2 separate regions of the Homo sapiens genome follow, and region 2 is linked to region 1. The links are contacts of gene promoters, found by promoter capture Hi-C in blood cells and fetal thymus (Javierre and others, 2016). All regions are on one chromosome and are shown on one strand. The core of a region is centred on a gene start or on the middle of the fragment in contact, and the rest is flanking DNA. Distances in the headings are between cores, read along the strand shown.

Evidence for each region. Contacts are between HindIII fragments. The CHiCAGO score rates a contact against its expected background, and 5 or more counts as called.
Region 2: a contact is called between a fragment that was not itself captured here and the fragment with the promoter of CDCP1 in region 1, in 1 of 17 cell types (M1 macrophages). The highest score is 5.9, in M1 macrophages.

What each region holds. Positions count from the first base shown.
Region 1 is chr3:45,144,488-45,149,333 of GRCh38, forward strand. CDCP1 (CUB domain containing protein 1) reads right to left here and starts at 1,891. Exons shown (of 9, transcript NM_022842.5): 1 at 1,719-1,891. The coding sequence starts at 1,800. The HindIII fragment of the contact is 9,970 bases long and covers 1-4,846 here.
Region 2 is chr3:45,496,246-45,501,091 of GRCh38, forward strand. LARS2 (leucyl-tRNA synthetase 2, mitochondrial) reads left to right here. Exons shown (of 22, transcript NM_015340.4): 14 at 30-128; 15 at 4,197-4,334. The region is part of intron 2 of LARS2-AS1 (LARS2 antisense RNA 1); the gene reads right to left. Among named protein-coding and RNA genes, the nearest start is that of LARS2-AS1, 11 kb to the right of the region's middle. The HindIII fragment of the contact is 3,300 bases long and covers 412-3,711 here.

The DNA of each region.
Region 1 (4,846 bases), core at 641-3,140:
TGTATTGAACCATGAGACAGGGCTCAGCCAGTCAAGGACTTCCTGGAAGGGACTCCATTGGAGTTACTGGACCAAAATGGCAGCCTTCCCAGATCACAGGGAGAAATGAGACCAGGAACAGAGGCTCTCATTATTAGCAATGCCTTGATTAACACCCTGTTCTGACTGGAAGAGTTCCCCACTGTTGTCACAGAAAGCCAAAAACATCTCAGATAATTCCCAGAGTTTCAATACTGTTCCAAGACTGGTAGGCACGCATTTTTCTCAGCACACATATACACATATTTTCACTTCCTTTTTATTCTTAAACTAATTCTTTTTCTTCAAAGGGAATCTTGGAAATTCAGTCCTAAGAAATTATAGTAAATATTCATCAGCCAGGCACAGTGGCTCACATCTGTAATCCCAGCACTTTGGGAGGCCCAGGTGGGAGGATCACTTGAGCTCAGGAGCTCGAGACCAGCCTGGGCAACACAGTGAAACCCTGTCTCTACTTTAATATATATAATTTATATATATATTTATAAATCCATGCCATGGTTTAAATGAAGTTTTAAATTTTCTATCTACTATGCAGCAATATGTCACCTGATGTTGGAGAATGAACCAGGAAGTATTCCTGGAGCTTATATTGATATTTTAGAAGCTCCTGTCTTGTATTTGTAAAGACGGCAGTCACCGGGACGCCCAAATTCAACCTCACTTGCGTCCTTTTATTCCTTTATCTAATTTACACCTGCCAAACACAAATCCACCCTAGATGCAGCAAGGGGAATCAAACCCACATGGCTTCCTGGAGAGCTCTATTTAAAAAACACAAAACCTGTACTAATCTCGCGAAACCTGTACTAGCCTCACATCAAGTTCTTACATGAAGAAACCAGGTTATTTACTACGTTCTAATACATCCAGGGCCCACAGGGCATTTCCTGGCTGGCACAGGTCACTGGGACGTGTTGGTCCCTTCCCCCAACCGAAACAACTCGAAATTCACACATATCCCCGGAACAACAGCCTCCTGCCCTCAAAGTCCACTGCCAAAAAGTGCGAGGGGCGCGGGAATGTCCAGTCTCTGCGGTGGCGCAGATGCCTGGCGGCTTTCTCTGGGACCCCCTAAAAGAAATCCGGGCGCTTTCATTTTTGCACCAACGCTCTTCAACTTTAGGAGAGGGGGAATGCAGCGTGCGGACGGGAAAAAGGGGATCTAGTGGGAAATGCGGACGTGAAAGCACTTTTTTTGCACCTTCTCTCTGGACCAGGCGAGGAGGTAGAGGGCGAGCCTGGAGAGGAAAGATCTCTTCCCACACCCTGCCTGGGTGCTTTCAAGAATCCCGGCAAAGACCCTGGGGCGCACGGCGCGCCACCTTGGACATGTCGCCTGGGATCGGCTACCGGGAGCTCCTTTTCCCGCCTTCTCGGCCAGCACCGGGCTCATCCTCCCGGACCGGGAGGCTCCCCGATCGGGGACACTCTCACGTGCCGAGGGCAAGGTTGACTCCAGGAGGGCAAGGCCCACGCGCCCGACGCGGCGCGCGCAGGAACCGAACAGTCCGGGGGTCCCGGAGCCACCCGCGCATTTTGACTACGCCGTCCCCGCCCTCTCTCCGCACCCTCCGCACCCTCCGCACCCTGCGTCCCTCGGCCGCATCTCCGCCGGGCGTCCGCTGGCTGGCTAGCTCACCACTCCACGCCATCCGCCTCCAAAGCCCGGCACTCACCTGCCCCGCGCGGCAGGCGCGCCGCACCCAGCAGCAGAACCCCTAGCAGTGCGATAGAGACCCCGCAGTTCAGGCCGGCCATGACTCCGGGACGCCTCGGCCTCGGTGGGGAAAACGACGGTGGGGAGCGGCGGCCCCAGGCGCCCAAGCCCGGCGCAGCTGCGCTCCGCCCTGGCTCACTCACCTGCGCGCGGGCGGACCGGCCCGAGCCCCGCCCTGCGCAGCAGGATCGCGAGCTGACCCGGTGCGTCCCTCCTCTCTCTCCTCCTCCTCTTCCTGCCTCAGCGACCGCCTCTCCCTCCCAGGGTGCAGGGCTCCCGGCACCGGGTTGCTGGGTCCCTACTACTCCCCATTGCGGCGTTGGAGCGGACTTGTCCCCACCTTTCCGGGCTTAGTCTTCCTTCCCAAGTCTGAGAATGATGAGGTCTTTTTCTCCAGAGTCGCGAAGGTCGCCCATAGAGGAAGCCAGTCTACCTTCCCTTTTCTGTCGAGGAGACAAAGGCCATTATGCGCCTCGTTTTGGAGAAGAATCCTATTTGTGGGCCACCCAAGCCCTGGATCCTCTGCTACTTGACTTGGGCCAGAGGTCTGTTGGACTTTAAAGCCGGTGGTGGTACAGCTAGTATTTGCAGGACGGTGAGCCTGCAGCCTACTCCACACACATCACCTGCAGTATTTCCAGACACGCAACGTGTCCAAGGTCCCCAGGGTAGCTAGTAAATTAGAGGCAGATGCACCACTTCGTTGAATTGTGAGTAGAGTAGTATGCATCCCTTCACTGAGCTGTGGATGGAGTAGTATGTGCCCTTCTCGAGTTGTATTATAAATGGAGTAGTGTGTGCAGTGTGAGCGTGAAGCATTCAGGTCAAACGTTGGGCTGGAAAATGAATGAAAAATGAATGGCGCTGGACTCCTTTTCCAAATCCTCCCAGCCGCAGGTGTGCCACCTGCCTGTCTTCAGAGGCCCTGTGGGTTCTCCTTCCACCCTGCCGGCCATACACCAAGTCCAGGCCACAGGCAGAGATTGCGGATGGTTCAGGAGTTCTTAGCTAGCAGACCTGGGTTCTGCCAGAATGACTCCCTGGGACTACTTGTGTTCATGGATAGCCAGAAGCTGGGCCAGAGTCACCCGGAGCAACCTGGGAGGCTTGGGACAGGAACCAAAGCATGTGCGACAGCATCAGTTTACAGTCCAGTCCCAACTTCTGCTTAATTCTTGCGGGCACTGAGCCTCTCCAGGCTGCCCCAATCCTCCTTGTGGACAGGGGTGGGAAATCATCTCCTAGGAGCGTCACCCCTTCCTTCTCGATGTCCTTAATCATGAGAATAGAGCTAGCTCTGCCCTCTGGGAGCCCACAGTCCATCGAGGGAGGCAGAACTTGGAACATGACCCTGCCCACACCCCCACCTCTGGGAGGGCCTGTATCGTGAGCTAAACGGGACCTTAGATGTAATCTTCTAGTCCACTTCTGTCCTTGTGCAGAAAAATGGGAAAACTGAGAACTAGAGGGAAGGGAGAGGATGAGAAACGAAGAGAGGCTCTTGGTTCTCCCCACTGAATCGAGGACAAATTCATCAAGAGAAAGAAATCTTGACAAAAATCTAAACAATCTTTAAAAATATTTATGCTGACCAGGAGGGTGAAAGGAGATTTGTCTTTTCTCCTGATTCTAAGCAGGCATATATATCCCAGCATCTTTTCCTAACATCCATGACACCATTGTTTCCCACATACAGTAATACCCACAACAGTACTAGAATGGCAGTGTATTGAATGCAAAATATCAGAAATATTGCTTGACAAGTTAAGCCTAAGGAACAAGTTATTTCCTTACTATTTCGTCTCTCCAAAGTTTGCTTAACTGTCTTTCTTGGGATAGTTGACACCAGCTTTCTGAAAATGGAATGAGAGTCACTAATTCCCAAATATGAAGCATTGGTGGTGGTTCCAGAAAGTAGCAGCAACGAGAAAGAAGAAAATAGGGAGGCACTTCAGCATCCTTTGCGTGACAACCCAACTACATAGTTGAAGTAAAGATGTCCTGACATACTGTCCTGGTCCTCCAAGTGGAGTGTGAACAAAGCATTGCCAAGAATGGACATGTTTTGTCTTTACAAACATGGCTGAATGGAAGGAGTAAATTTTAAAAGGTTATTTCTGAACTGGAAAGCAACGTAGGTAACTATAATCTAGTGCTAGAGAGAAATGAGAGATTGAAAGGTAAATTTTCGGCTGGGTGCAGTAGCTCATGCCTGTAATCCCAGCACTTTGGGAGGACAAGGTGGGTGGATAACTTGAGGTCAGGAGTTGGAGACCAGCCTGGCCAACATGGCAAAACCTCATCTCTACTAAAAACACAAAAATTAGCCGGCTGTGGTGGCGGGCGCCTGTAGTCCCAGCTACCCAGGAGGCTGAGACAGGAGAATTGCTTGAACCTGGGAGGTGGAGGTTGCAGTGAGCTAAGATTGCACCATTCCACTCCAGCCTGGGCGACAGAGTAAAGTTCTCTCTCTAAAAAAAGAAAAAAAAAAAAAAGGAAGGTGAGTCTTAAAACAGACTGTCCCATCTAATTTTGACCTCTTCTGAAACCCTGCAAAGGCTGTAAAACAGGGATTAAAAAAAATTACATAAGCCCACAAAGGTGGGAAGAACAGAGAGAAGACAACAGCAAAATCACCCTGGAAGCTAGACAGCAGCTGGACTAGTGGTAGCTGCCTTAGGAGCCTGGAGATGGCAGAACCCTAAGCCAGTAGTGGGGAAAACTCAGAAATAACACGATTAACACAGAAATCCTCAAAAAAGATCCTCAGGAAATGGCAGCACAAGGTATTCTGCAACTGGAGGGTGAAAGAGGAGTTAAACAAGAAAGGCTAGAAGAAAGCTGTTTGAGAAGTACTGTGGTTAGATCCCAGAACCCATCCATCATTACCCTTGCCTGGGCAACAGTCCCTCGTCCAGCTTCCAGTGTTGTTCTTGAGAAATCCAAAACCATTCTCATTTTTATTATTTTCTTTGAGACCCTTTTCTTGCCTCTAAAGCTGTAGAATCTTCTTTTTGTTCATTGGTTTCTGAAATTTCACCATAATGTGCCTTGATGTGAGTCTGCCTATATTATCGATCTTTAGAT
Region 2 (4,846 bases), core at 812-3,311, 350 kb after region 1:
CCAATTGATGAATTTCATTTCTTTCTTAGGTGCAAGGGAGCAGCCAAGAGAGAGACAGACACGATGGATACCTTTGTTGATTCTGCTTGGTACTACTTCAGATACACTGACCCTCATAATCCACACAGGTAAAACGTCCCTGCTGATGTCTTTGAGCATTTGTCAGTGTGGCTCCTCCTAGAAGCAAAGACCAAGATGGAATTAGACATGCAAGAGATTTCTTGGGGGGAAATGCCTGTGCAGATTAAAGGGGAGAAGAGGAGGAGTGGGCAGAGAGTGCTCTTAGACCACGATGGAGCTGTGACAGGTGTGAAAGGAGAAGGGAAAGGAAGGAGGATCAGGTGGAGGAGCCTCAGCCCACAGCACAACTCTGAGAAAGCCTCGACCTGGCCAGTGGGAAGGCCCAAGCAAAGCTTGTCCATTAGAGTCTTACAGTCAGGCTAAAATGGCTCTGCTCCAGCCCCTCCCTCTACTCTCCTGGGAGCAGCCTGGGAGAGCAACATGGGCTGGCAGGAACACACCAGAGTGGGTCCACAGATGCAGCAGCTGGAAGCTGTCAGTCAACTGTGCACCTCGGAACAGGCTCTCTTAAAGGGAGAGTGCTACATCATTAAGTTAGATTATTCACAGCCAAGTAAATCCCAAGTACAACACAAATACAAAACGGAAAAAGAAGGAAATGCTACTGTGATACCCTCCTTGCAGTGAACTGCATTTGTATGATTGTAAAGATGTAATGTTATTTATTTAACTGAAAAGAATAATGTAACTCTACAGAGAAGGTAGCAGGTAGGGAGGGTGAGACCGCTAAGAAGCCTCACCTCTTACTACATAGTAGATCATTTCCTAAATTGATAAATCAATAAAGAGTATAAACATGTTTTTTTTTTTCAATAATTGCTGGGAGAAACAACCAAAAGAATTAAAAGTGGCTAAGAGACAGGCCTGAGGCAAGGAAAGAATTGGGGCTGGAGACCACTGTTTTTCATTGTAAATCTTTCAGTACCATTTTGATTTTTAAGCTGTATTCATGTGTTTATTTGAACCCCGCCCCCCCCAAAAAAAGAAACAAATTAAGGAAAAGAGAGCAGTAGGTAGCCTTATAAAGAGAGAGAATGAGAACCGAAAGAAACTCTTCCAGAGCCCAGGAAAAAACACAGCATTGTGCTTAAAAGGGCCTTGCCTAATTGCTCTTGTCCATGGCAGAAACATTCTGGAACCCTGTTGCCTACATATAAAATATGCCTCCCTATTCTTCGTGGTTCTAAAATAATATCTTTCTAGTGAGACAGATACTCCTGCCCTCACCCTGCCAGAATTTCAACCTGCAGTGTTGTGATTCTGTAATTTGAGTTCATATCAGATATAAGGGGGATCCTTGTCAGGCATGGTGGCTCACGCCTGTAATTCCAGCGCTTTGGGAGGCCGAGGCAGGCTGATCACCTGAGGTCAGGAGTTGGAGACCAGCCTGACTAACATGGCAAAACCCCAACTCTACCAAAAATACAAAAATTAGCTGGACACGGTGGCACGCACCTGTAATCCCAGCTACTCAGGAGTCTGAGACAGGAGAATCGCTTGAACCCGGGAGGCAGAGGTTGCAGTGAGCTGAGCTCGTGCCACTGCACTCCAGCCTGGGCAACAAAGTGAGACTTCCTCTCAAAAAAAAAAAAAGAAAAAAAAGAAATGAGGGGGATCCTGAGTGAAAGACACCCTGCAAAGGCAGGAAGGGTGCAAGGTGACGACTGTGGCTGGGAACCACCAGCATGGCCTTCTCTGGCCCACAGAGGGGCTCCCCTTCAGGGCCTTCCCTCTATAAGGGGCCATTGGTGCATTTCATGTAGTAACAACTGGCTTAGAATGCAAGTGAGGTCAGGCTCTTTCCTTTCTCAGAGTGCTTCAAAGGAAAGCCTTCACACAGATGAGAGAGACCTCAAGTTACCGTGGCGGGAGAGACATCCTGAGACCGTCACAGCCCCCAGTTTGTGAACAGCAGTGAGCACTTCATTTCCCTCATGACACACTGTAGTTAGCTTCAGCCCCAGCACGAGTTCTTCCTGGGGTGGTTTCCTGAGTGGATCATAAATCTGAGCTGTAGCTACTTTCAACATTTCACTCCTTAATATATCCCAAACTTGTTTTCCGGCCAAATACCATCCTTCACTTTCCTTTCTTTTCTGTCGCCTGGATTGGCAGTTGAATTTCTTTAGGGAACTGTTTTTCACGAAGAAAAAAAGTGTTTTTTAAAAATTTTATCAGAATTCTGGTACAGTGACTGGAGAACACCAAACTATATTAAGATGCAAATATGTGGTGGTAGCCAGGCTCTTTTTTCTAGCCTCAAAGCTGAAGCCAGCCAAGTCTATCCTGGGGAAAAAGGTGGCTTGAGGTGTCAGGGAACCAATTCACAAATATTCGAAGTCCTCCAAAGGCAAAGGTTTGCTTGATTGGCTGACCTCAAGGGACGGCATTACCTTGGCAACACAGAGGTCTGTCGCCAGCCAGTGCTGCCCCTCCCACCGAAGGTCCCAGCCAGAAAATGGAAATGACATTTCCTTTCCTCTCCAGTGTCCTTTAGGACCCAAGAGTATGAGAAAGCCTTTCTATTAGTATCTGTTAGGTGAGAGTTATTGGGCTATTATATGACAAGTCACCTTAAATATGTTGCATCGCATTCAGTAAGCAATATACAGTCTCTAGCTGAGTATATTTTCAGACTGCTTTAAAAAATAAAATCAAATTTCTATTTTAAAATAAACATTTACAGCTGGGGCACAGTGGCTCACATGTGTAATCCCATAACTTGGGGAGGCCGAGGCAGGAAGATGACTTGAGGCCAGGAGTTCAAGACCAGCTGGACTGAACGTAGCAAGACCTCGTCTCCATAAAAAATGTTTTAAAAAAATTAACTGATGGCCAGGTGCAGTGGCTCACACCTGTAGTCCCAGCACTTTGGGAGGCCGAGTTAGGCAGATCACCTGAGGTCAGAAGTTCAAGATCAGCCTGACCAACATGGCAAAACCCCATCTCTACTAAAAATATAAAAATTAGCCTGGTGTGGTGTCAGGCATCTGTAATCCCAGCTACTCAGGAGGCTGAGGCACAAGAATAGCTTGAACCCTGGAGGCGGAGGTTGCAGTGAGCCGAGATCACGCCCCTGCAACCGAGCCTGGGTGACAGAGCGAGACTCCGTCTCAAAAAGAAAATTAAAAAAAAAAAAGAAAAAATTAGCTGGGCAGAGTGGTGTGTGTCTGTAGTCCTAGATACTTGGGAGGTTGAGGCTGGAAGATCGCTTGAGCCCAGGAGTTGGAGGCTGCAGTGAACTATGATTGTGCCACTGCGCTCCAGCGTGGGTGACCAAGCAAGACCCAAACTTTAATAAAGAAAAAAAAATGTTTTTTAATGTGAAAATAAATTAATAAATAAACATTTAGTATCTGCATGTTAATCTTCATTGTAAATACCACATTGCCCTCTATTGGTAGGAACTCTGACATCTCAATTGTGTAATCATAATAATAAAAATTAAAGTGAATCTAGATATTCAAGGTGCATTGTAGCAAGATGCCTTTTTTTGCTGGTATGTTTTCCTTTTGTCCTCATTTTATATGCAAATTGCTTTTGTTGAAATATGTCAGTAATATCTTCTGTAACCATTTTTATAATTTCATAAATTAACACTTACCTGACTTTTTTCTTTTTTATTATATAAGCTTTTCTCATATATATATTTTTGTTTGTTTGTTTGTTTGTTTGTTTGTCTGTTTTGTTTTTGAGACAGAGTCTCACCCTGTTGCCCAGGCTGGAGTGCAATGGCACGATCTTGGCTCACTGCAACCTCTGCCTCCCGGGTTCAAGTGGTTCTCCTGCCTCAGCCTCCTGAGTAGTTGGGATTACAGGTGCCCACCACTACAACTGGCTAATTTTTGTATTTTTAGTAGAGATGGGGTTTCGCCATGTTGGGCAGGCTGGTCTCGAACTCCTGACCTCAGGTGAGCCACCTGCCTCGGCCTCCCAAACTGCTGGGATGACAGGCATGAGCCACCGCGCCCGGCCTTCTCTTATATTTTAAAAAAATCATTGTTATTCCCTGATACGGTTCATTTCAGGGCATATGCATATTACAATAGGCCTGTTTAATTTACACAATTGTGGCAAAGCAGGTTTTTAAAAATGCCTCCATCTCTTTTTTACAGCCCTTTTAACACAGCAGTGGCCGATTACTGGATGCCTGTGGATTTGTACATTGGAGGGAAAGAACATGCCGTCATGCACTTGTTCTATGCAAGATTCTTTAGTCATTTTTGCCATGATCAAAAAATGGTTAAACATAGGTAAGCACTTATACTGCTTTGCAAAATAATTGAGTTCCATGAATAGCAACTTTAAGCAGGTGTCAGTTCTTCTGAAGCAAGGTAAATGCATGTAGTAGAATACTAGTTTTCTAGTATGCTTTAGAGGTTGTCAACCTTAATCATTTGAGGTCCATTTATATTGCGTAGTCAGTTCTGGCATGTGATGTTGCATGCTTGCATAGAACCTAGCCTTCAGTGCTTCTCTGTTTAACTGAGTTAAGTAATTAAGAATTGTACCTGTGAGGCAGAGAGGAGTGGCCCATAGTGTTTTATAGCATCTCATGTGAGGTCATGCTTATCACCCAGTCCTTCCATGTCAGCTCTTGTTCCTAAGCTTGGCTGAATCCCACCTTGATGCATCCCTCTAAAAAATGTATAGAGTGGATTTGAAATAGAGAATCACATTGTAAAAACATCAGTAAATTCTTTTCCTGTTGGCCTATTGTAACCCTTTCCTCATAATGTTCAGAAAAATGTGTGTGTACTTTTCC